Regions from separate parts of the Homo sapiens genome. Here region 1 is linked to region 2. The links are contacts of gene promoters, found by promoter capture Hi-C in human tissues and cell types (Jung and others, 2019). All regions are on one chromosome and are shown on one strand. Each heading gives the region's core, a stretch centred on a gene start or on the middle of the fragment in contact. The rest is flanking DNA. Distances are from core to core; before and after follow the strand shown.

What was found. The method cuts DNA at HindIII sites, captures the fragments that hold promoters and counts their contacts. A contact is called where the count stands out against the background at its distance.
Region 1: a contact is called between a fragment that was not itself captured here and the fragment with the promoter of SUSD5 in region 2, in 1 of the 25 tissues and cell types used here (hippocampus).

Annotation. Positions count from the first base shown.
Region 1 is chr3:33,413,201-33,417,784 of GRCh38, reverse strand. UBP1 (upstream binding protein 1) reads left to right here. Exons shown (of 16, transcript NM_014517.5): 3 at 951-1,027. It also overlaps a transcript of FBXL2 not described here and the pseudogene RNU7-110P. Among named protein-coding and RNA genes, the nearest start is that of UBP1, 25 kb to the left of the region's middle. The HindIII fragment of the contact is 5,299 bases long and covers 1-4,584 here.
Region 2 is chr3:33,216,087-33,220,475 of GRCh38, reverse strand. It overlaps SUSD5 (sushi domain containing 5), which reads left to right and starts at 1,666. Exons shown (of 5, transcript NM_015551.2): 1 at 1,666-1,790. The coding sequence starts at 1,679. The HindIII fragment of the contact is 17,520 bases long and covers 1-4,389 here.

The sequences.
Region 1 (4,584 bases), core at 749-3,248, 200 kb before region 2:
ATGTGATATTATAAGCATTCTTTAATTTTTACTGATTTTCTGCATGCCAAATTATACTGTCATTTTTATTATTTAATAACAGATAATCCAGAAATCATTTTTTGTGGATTTGGAGTACATTATTAATTTTTTTACAGCAGCATTTTCCTAATTATCTAGATTGATGTGTGAATATCTGTGTTTTCTAATAAACACTAAAAGTGGAAACAACCCAAATATCCATCAGCTGATGAATGGATAAACAAAATTTGGTTTAGTCTTTACACAGTGGAATAGTATTAGGCAATAAAAAGGAATGAATATTATTTGGCAATAAAAAGGACTGATATATACTACATATGGGTGAACCTTGAAAACATTATGCTAAGTTTAAAAAGCAAGGCACAAATACCCACATATTGTATGATTCTGTTTATGAAAGTATCCAGAGTGGGCAAATCGTAGAGGCAGAAAGTGGATTGGTGATCGCTAGCAGTTGGCCAGGTGGGGGGTGGGGGAGGGATGGGAAGTGACTAATAGAGGTTTCTTCTTAGGATGATGCGAGTGTTCTAAAACTGGTAGTGGTGATGGTTGCACAACTCTGACTATACTGAAAACCAATGATTTACACACTTTTTAAAAATGTGAATTTTATGGTATGTAAACTATATCTCAGAAAAGCTGTTACAAAAATTAGTCTTAGGTAATGCAAGCATAATAAAAGTTTAGTGTAAGAGAGTGGCAGATGAAGATAAATTGACAGAGAAACTCTTGTCTCCTGTAATAATGTTAGAACAGAAGGTTGGTGTGATTTTCAGGGAAGAGAAGGATCAACCTGAATTTGCTTCCGTAGCAAATTAACAAACTATCATTGTGTAATGTATGTTCTGAGAAACATGCATTTTGAATTATGTTAAGCAAAGTGATGTTCTTTATAAGGATTGTTTTTTATACACAATTTCTTTAAATAGGTCAGTCATATGAAATTCGGATGCTGGATAATCGGAAAATGGGTGATATGCCTGAGATCAATGGAAAATTAGTAAAGGTAAGGACAGTCCATTTTAATTCCCAATGGATATTGCTGTGATTGAATGAGTTTTTGTTTAAAAAAAAATTAATTTCACTTCAATAATTGTTGTATTACAACTTTTTAACTTTATGAGCTATATTTTGTTTATTCACCTGTAAAATGGGAATTATAGCAGTTATTGGGTAGAGTAATTTTGAAAGACCCTTGGAAATCAAGGAGCAATAGAAAAGTTAGTTGTAGTTATGGGGTAAAAAACTCATCACCACAACAAAAACCTATAAGCCTCTCTAAAAGTAAAAGATAATATGGGGAAGAATGTCAATGTTGGCATAAAACTTTAAAAAATCCTTTACCTTGTAAAGTTTCATTTAAAAAATAGAAATCTCTGTTCACCCTACTCATGTATCTGAATGAAGAAGTCAGTCATCCTAGGTATAGGAGGCATAGCTGTTTTCCAGCTAACCTGTTCTTTTAGGATGTATCCTCAGAACCATCCCTGCCCCCTGGCCCCTCCTAGCCTGTATCCATCATACATCATGGCTAGTTATAAATTCCATAGCATTACAGGGCAGGGTTAATGAAAGAATCTTAATTGGGGAAAGGTAAAACCTCATGTGGCTAACTAAGTGTTAGCAAGAGACAAGTTCTCTTGATCCTTCCATCTTCCCACAGAGTGGCATGTCAGGGCCCAGGTGCTGCTGGGCCCTCAGTGTGGAGGGGCATTCTATTGGAAAGACCTGCCCTCTGTGGATCTGCCTTTTTAGTGGGTAAGCATGGGAAGGGCAGCCTTGTGGTGGGAATTGGATTCAGGCAATCTAAATTTGGTGTGTTAACTAATTTGGCATGTATGGGAAAGCCAGCTGCCCAGTACCTGGAGGGCACCTGGAAGGTTACTTAGGGATCAAATGATGGGTTACCAAAGGTGCTTTGGAACTTCTTGAATGTGCAGAACATATTCAGCAATGTGCTTTCTCTGATTGTTCTGTTTTTGTCTTTCTTTGTTCTGTGTTTTTTTTTTTGTTAATGTATCAGTGTAAAAGGGTTGGAAAGTTGTTTTAATTGTGAACTCCATAATAAAATTTAGTAGGATTTGATGGGCCCTATACTGAGGTCTTTAAAACTGGATCCAAAAATGTTAGAACAATTTTTTTAACTTTTTATTATGGTAAAATTTGAACATACCCAGAAGTAAAGAGAATGGTACAATGAATCCACATATATCCATCATATGGTGGTATATAATAAATATATCTGGTATATATCATGAGTTCTCATAAGTTCTCATGCCAACTTCAACATTCTCCACAATTTGCCAGACTTGTTTCATCTATTCCCCTTGTGCTTTTTTTGTGTATGCCGGATTATAGAATTTACTAATTTGTAATTTTAACTCAGTTCTTCATTCATGACCATTCAGTGTTCTGAGGAAAATATAACAAACTTTGACATCCAGACCAAATGCCAAAATTCAGTGTCCATCAAGGCATTGAAGAAAATCAATTCTGAAGCAATTGTCTTTGTCATTTATCAGTGGAGACAAGCTGGCTTTCCAGGGCAGTTCCCTGAATAGGTGGTAGGATTTAGAAATAATTAGTCTGATAGGTGATACCTAATGTTTAAAATATTTTGGCAAGCTGGTTAAAATACCTGTCAGATTAACTTGGGATGGCAGGGTAAAGTTGTATGACTGCTTTAAGTTCAACTTCCTTGTATTTACTTCCAAATTAAAACATGTAAAAACATTTAATATACAAAATTAATGCAAGCAAATAAATTAAGGGAAAAATGACACCTCATTATGACGTAATGAACTACTGTTAGTAGCAAAACCATTAACTTATAAATGCACAGTGAATGTTTTGCTGACATAACACTAGTATATTCCACCTAGACAAGGTTACTTATTCTGAAGGCATCAGTATCTAAATATTTAGCCCACTGATTGAAAAGGGTTCATTTTTAAAGCATTTTACATTGGCTTCATCTTCTGTTTGATAAGCCAGCTGTGTGATTTTTGGTGGATGTGCCAGGCATGCAGTTATATTCTGTAAGCTTGTCTGGGATTAAGAGCTACTGTCTGCTACTACCAAAGACTGCAGGATGAGTTTCTTGGAAATTACATCCTTTTTTTAGCTAGAGAATCCCTAAAATATGCTTCAAATTTCTAGAGTTTTATTTCCTGGCCCTAGGATCTTTGACTATACTACTTAAATTTGTGGGGGAACCTTGGGGATCAAGTGATAGGTTTGCGAAGGTGCTTTGGAACTTCTTGAATGTGCTGAACATATTTAGCAATGTGCTTTCTCTGATTGTTCTGTTTTCGTCTTTTTTTGTCCTATTTTTTTCTTTTAGTCTTATTGTTAGGGCCCCATCACATGTTGCTAGTTCTGAAAATGCAGTCAATCTCCTTTTAGGGAGAACTTTCAGATAACGAGATTTTCTCCCTGTTTCATATAAGAAGTTCCTTTCCTCTCTCCCGCCCTCCTCCCTCTCTTTCTTTTTCTTTCCCTTCCTCCCTTCCTTTTCATTCCTTTCTTTTTTCCTTTCCGTTCTTTTTTGGGTAGGGGTTTCTGGTAGAAACTGGAAAACCTGCTAGACAAATTCTAAAAGCTATATAATGCTAGAATTTTTCTTATATATCTTGTAATTTCCTAACTTTGGTCCTCCTTTTATCTTTAGTATTTTAGTCCAACCTTCTAGAATGGGGCTTAGTAAAGCTCTGAAGTCTAATACCTGTATTCTAATACTGTTTTCATCTGAATATGTGTAGTTAGTATGGTTCTTACTGAGTATGGAACAATTAGAACTGTGATATTTTCTGTGCTGTACTTTTTTCTGGAGACGAGCTGGCTAGCAGATGTGAACCACTGGCATTGGTGTCTTAGGGGCCACCACTAGCCTATGCACCATCACTATGAGAGCTTTGCTCTGGTCAGGTGATGGTGTGAAGTGGGTGCTGGGTAATTGCTTGGACAGGCCCTGCAGGTGTGGGTGCAGGTAAGGAAGATGGGAATAAAGCAGCCACTGAGCCCTATAAATGTCTCCCACATGGTACTCTTTATCTCAAAGAAAAAAATTGCTTTTAATTGGCTGCTGGGATTACAGGCATGAGCCCCACCGCACCTGGCCTAAGTTCACTTTTTCAAGGCAGCGGGCAGTGTTTCGGATTTTTGTTTTATGCCAGTTCTTTTTTTTCAAAACTCAAAGTTTTTTTTTTTTTTTTTTTGTGATGGAGTCTCGCTCTGTCACCTAGGCTGGAGTGCAGTGGTGCGAACTTGGCTCACTGCAAGCTCTGCCTCCCGGGTTCACACCATTCTTCTGCCTCAGCCTCCCAAGTAGCTGGTACTACAGGCGCCCACCACCATGCCTGGCTAATTTTTTGTATTTTTTGTAGAGATGGGGTTTCACCGTGTTAGCCAGGATGGTCCCAATCTCCCTGACCTCGTGATCCTCCCACCTCAGCCTCCCAAAGTGCTGGGATTACAGGTGTGAGCCACCGCACCCAGCCAGAAGACTCAATTGTTAACTGTTATTTTAAATTAACAAAGTTTTACCATTGTTTCTGGGTTTCT
Region 2 (4,389 bases), core at 417-2,916:
AAAAAAAAGGGAAGGAGCTAAGTAAATTCATTTATACTTGTCAGGCCTCACTGCATTTAACACCTCACTGCATTAACAGCTACCACGCCCGGCTAATTTTTGTATTTTTGTAAAGATGGAAATTTCACCATGTTGGCCAGGCTGGTCTCCAACTCCTGATCTCAGGTGATTGGTCGGCCTCCGCCTCCCAAAGTGCTTGGATTACAGGCCTGGGCAACCGTGTCCGGCCAGTATTTGTATTTTGAAAGCAAAGTTTAATTATCCAAAATAATTACTCATTAATAGTAGCCCTTGTAGTTGATGGGAAGTAATAAGGAGAGAAGAAATCTTTTCAGTACATTTCAACAATTAATGCAAGCTGAAAAATGACACCTGTAGTAAATCAGATGTGGATTCAAATCCAAGTTCTTACTGTGAAAAGAAAGTAAATTATTTCAATGTCTGTGTCCTGGTTCATTAAATGAGGATAATCATCTGCCCCTTTAGCACCAATCACTTTTTCAATTGTAAGTATATTTTATTTAAGTGTGAACATTTTTAGGACCGATTGCAGCCACATTCAGGGTCTAGCACAGGGACAGGCATGTATGGGCACTCAATAGATGTTTGTTGACCCATACATCAATATAAAAGGGATTTGCAAATTGTAGAGCACCGCGCATGCCTCAGTTATAACAATACTGATCTTTATTACTCTACCTATGAAGAAAGCAAGTTCTTCTTTCACTGAACAGGGCTGGTGGTAGGGAGACAGGCTAGGGGCGAGCAGGAAGAAGGAATCAAGTCAAACAGGGACCCCTGCAGCAGAATCCATTGGGACACTTTAACTTAGAGTGTAGATTCCCAGACCAGACCGACAGAGTCCGAATCTCAGACCCTTTCGAGGTCAAAAAGCCCTGATTTGGGAGGTGGGTGATAATGGTGACAATCTCACTAGCCCTCTTACTGCTCCTTGAGAAATACTAGCGTACCAGGAAAAGTGGTGAAGGAAGCGTTCCTGAAGATATCCTTTCCTCAGTGACTCTCAAACTTCGCTTTTAGGAAAGAGGAATTTCGCTATTCCATGCGTTTCACACCTTAGAGTGAGGGTGGTAGGTAACTTAGATTTTCCTCTCTTCATTAAAAAAAAAAAAAAAAAAGAGTGTTGGTGGGGAGGGGGAGGAGGCCAGTTGAAAAGTAGAGGCCGAGGACAGAGTTAGACACTCGTTGTCTAACGGCCCTGCCGGAGGGGCTCCGCCTGTCAGACTGCGTCACCCTCTCGCCAAGGGTCCCCCAGACGGGCGGGGGCTCCTTGCGGCCGGCTAGCTACTCTCCCCGCCTCCCTGCGCCCTCGCCCTCCGCCCCGCTGTACCCGCAGAGCGCGCGGCCCAGCGCAGCCCCTTTTGGCACCGAGGTTTCCAGGTGCCCAGCGCGAAGGCGGAGCCGGGTTACAGCCGCCTCCTCGGCGCCACAGAGAAGACCCCCGGGAGTTCGGCGGCCCAGGCGCTCCGGCTCTGCGTCCCGAGCCTCCCCCGGCTCTCCGCGCTCCTCCCTCTCGGCGCGCCCGGCGCGAAGCCTGCGATTCGTGAGCCGAGCGCAGAGCGCAGAGCCGAGTGGCGCACGCTGGGCAGTGGCCTGGGCAACCCCAAACGCAGCCAGAGCCCTCACCCGAGTCCGCTGGCCCGCGCACTCCCGGACCATGACTGCCGAGGGACCCAGCCCGCCTGCCCGTTGGCACAGACGCCTCCCCGGGCTCTGGGCGGCGGCGCTGCTCCTGCTCGGTCTGCCGCGCCTTTCGGTGCGGGCGGATGGTGAGTGTGCGGGAGGCGGCGGGGCGGGGGGTGGAGCGTGGGGTCCGGGCAGGGAGGGCGTAGCTCGCCGGGGCTGCTCCCTCTGACCGGCCCGGCAAGCGGCAAGCGCAAGCCTGAGAGGAACGAACGAGCCGCGGTCCTGCGACCCAGCATCCCTCTCCTGGCCCACCAAGTCTCCGCGTGCCCGTGCGCCCAAACGCCCGCCTGGTGCCTGGACCCTCCCTTAGCGCCGAGCGCGTAGGTCCCGCAGTCCCGCCGCTGGCTTTCCTAAGGTCTCCAAGAAAGCTCGAATGAAATCACCTCTAAGGTGCCCTAGAACCTCCTCTGCTAAGGGGTGATTTTCCGCCGTCCCTCAGTTTCTCAACGTCTATTAATGTGCCCCTGAGGACACCGCCGATGGTTAGAAAACTCCCTCGGATATTTTGGCTTGGTCCGGGAAGACGTGAAAGATGAGTGGGAATCAGCGAGGCTAAGAGAGAGAGAATGGCCTGGCCAGAGGGAAAAGCACGTGCAAAGGCTGTCTCTGAGTGACAGGAAAAACGGGACAAATGATAAAGCAAAGTACCTGGAGGCGAGGGGACGTCTTGAGACATGAGGTAGAGAAGTGGGCAAGGGCCAGATTATGGCAGGTTCTCTGAGAATTGATCCACTTCTTGTTCGTTTGCTTGGTTTTTCAGCCTGAATTTAGCTTGTAATACTTGCCCTAAAATGAGCAGGATTGGAGCTCTGTATCCATTCCCTTTTGAAAAGCTAATTCAGCTGTGTTTTCATATTAGAACAAAATCCCGCTGACTTGGTACAGGAGCATCTGAAGGAAGCAAGCTTAAAGCCAGCAGTTCTCACACCCATGAGGTAGTTCTAGCTTAGGACGAATTAGACTGATAAAAGAGAAAAGCCCTCCGTCAATTTAGGATGCGTTGTATATTTTAAAATGTGATTCTTGTTTAGCCAACGATATTGAGTGAAACTAGAAGACATGGGGAAAAAAAAAAAAAGCATGGTTGTCAGGAAAAGGGGAAAGCCAAGGAAAAAACCGTCTAGGTCGTAGAGTTTTTAGTGCTCTCTGTTTTAAGTGCAGGCTTGAAAAGCTCTCCGTTCCTAATTAAGGATGAATGTCGTATTTCTCCATATCCTCAGAGAGAGTGTTAGAGACAAAACATTTTTAACTTTGAAGGCTGTTAGTAACCACTGCTAATTTTTTTAATTGACATGTATTTCACATAAAATTTGTCATTTTAAAATATACAGTTAAGTGGGTTTTAGTATATTCATTAGGTTGTGAAAACCATGGTTTGCATGCATCTAATTCCAGAACATTTCCATCACTCCTCAAAAGAATCCCATACCTATTAGCAGTTTACTGATAATTCTTCACTGTAGTGTTTTTTGACTGACATTGAGCCATGAAAATTAAGCTGATTTTAAAGAATGCAAGTAGAATAAATTGGAGCTAATATTAATCTTTGAACAAGATATATTGTGCCAACTTTAATTCCTTTTAAATAAATATTTTTGCAATCCATAAGGTTTTAGAGTTTCATCCCATTATAACTGTTTAAGTGGAATGCCATGTGGATAAGGATCAATATTTTGTGCCTGTCTAGCTTGATACGGGTCATAGAAAATTAAAGGCAGAAATGTCACTGGTCAAAGAGAAAGTAAGGACAACACCAGAGCACATGATTCTTTGTTACTGCTTGCCAGAAATGATTCCTTTTCTTCATTCTCCTTCCTTTTCTTTCCCCACTTCCTCAGTGGACAATTATAGGTATACTTCCTTATAGTAAACTCAATTTTATGAGCTCCAACTTTTATACTAGAACCAGGAAGAGTTATAAGCTATATTATCAAAGGATTCTTTTTGGTACTAAATTCTTAGCTGCCACCAGTTCCTACATTTAGTTATTTGTGTGCTATGGTGACGGGAGGAAGAAGAAGAAATGCTCAGCTTAAGTATGATGAATTACAGATGTTTGAAGAGATAGATTTGGAGAGAAACTATTTCTAAAAACGTGTCATCTGTATAAGGATGGTCTTTGAAATCATGTGCGTGGGCAGAATCCTAAGGAAAAATTTTACAGCAAGAAGACCTAGAACTGAGCCTGGAGTGAGGGAAGCTGGTTTGGGATTATTGAATCTATGTTTATGAAACATATTAGCCTGTAATTTTCATTTTTTATAATATCTTTGCCAAGTGTTGATATCAAACGTATGATGGTTCCTAAACCAAATTGTAAAGTTGCTCCTTCTTTAACTCTGAAAGGGTTTCTGCGGGTGAGGGCTTTTGTTTGTTTGTTTTGGTGTGAGATCATCTGTGTCTGAAGGTTTTCTTGTAGGAAGATTTTAAATAATGAATTTAATTTGTTTGGTAGATAAAGAAGTATTCAGATTTTAAAATTAATTTTGTGTCAATGTTGCTAAGTTTTATTTTTTAAAGTTTTTCCCCCACTTCATTTAGATTGTCTAATGTGGCATATACAATGTAATAATCTCTAATTATCATTTCAGGGTCCACGGGATCTGTAGTGATGTTCCCTTTCATTCTTGATATTGGTACTTTGTGTTTTCTCTTTTTTTGTCTTGATCAGTCTTAGTAGGG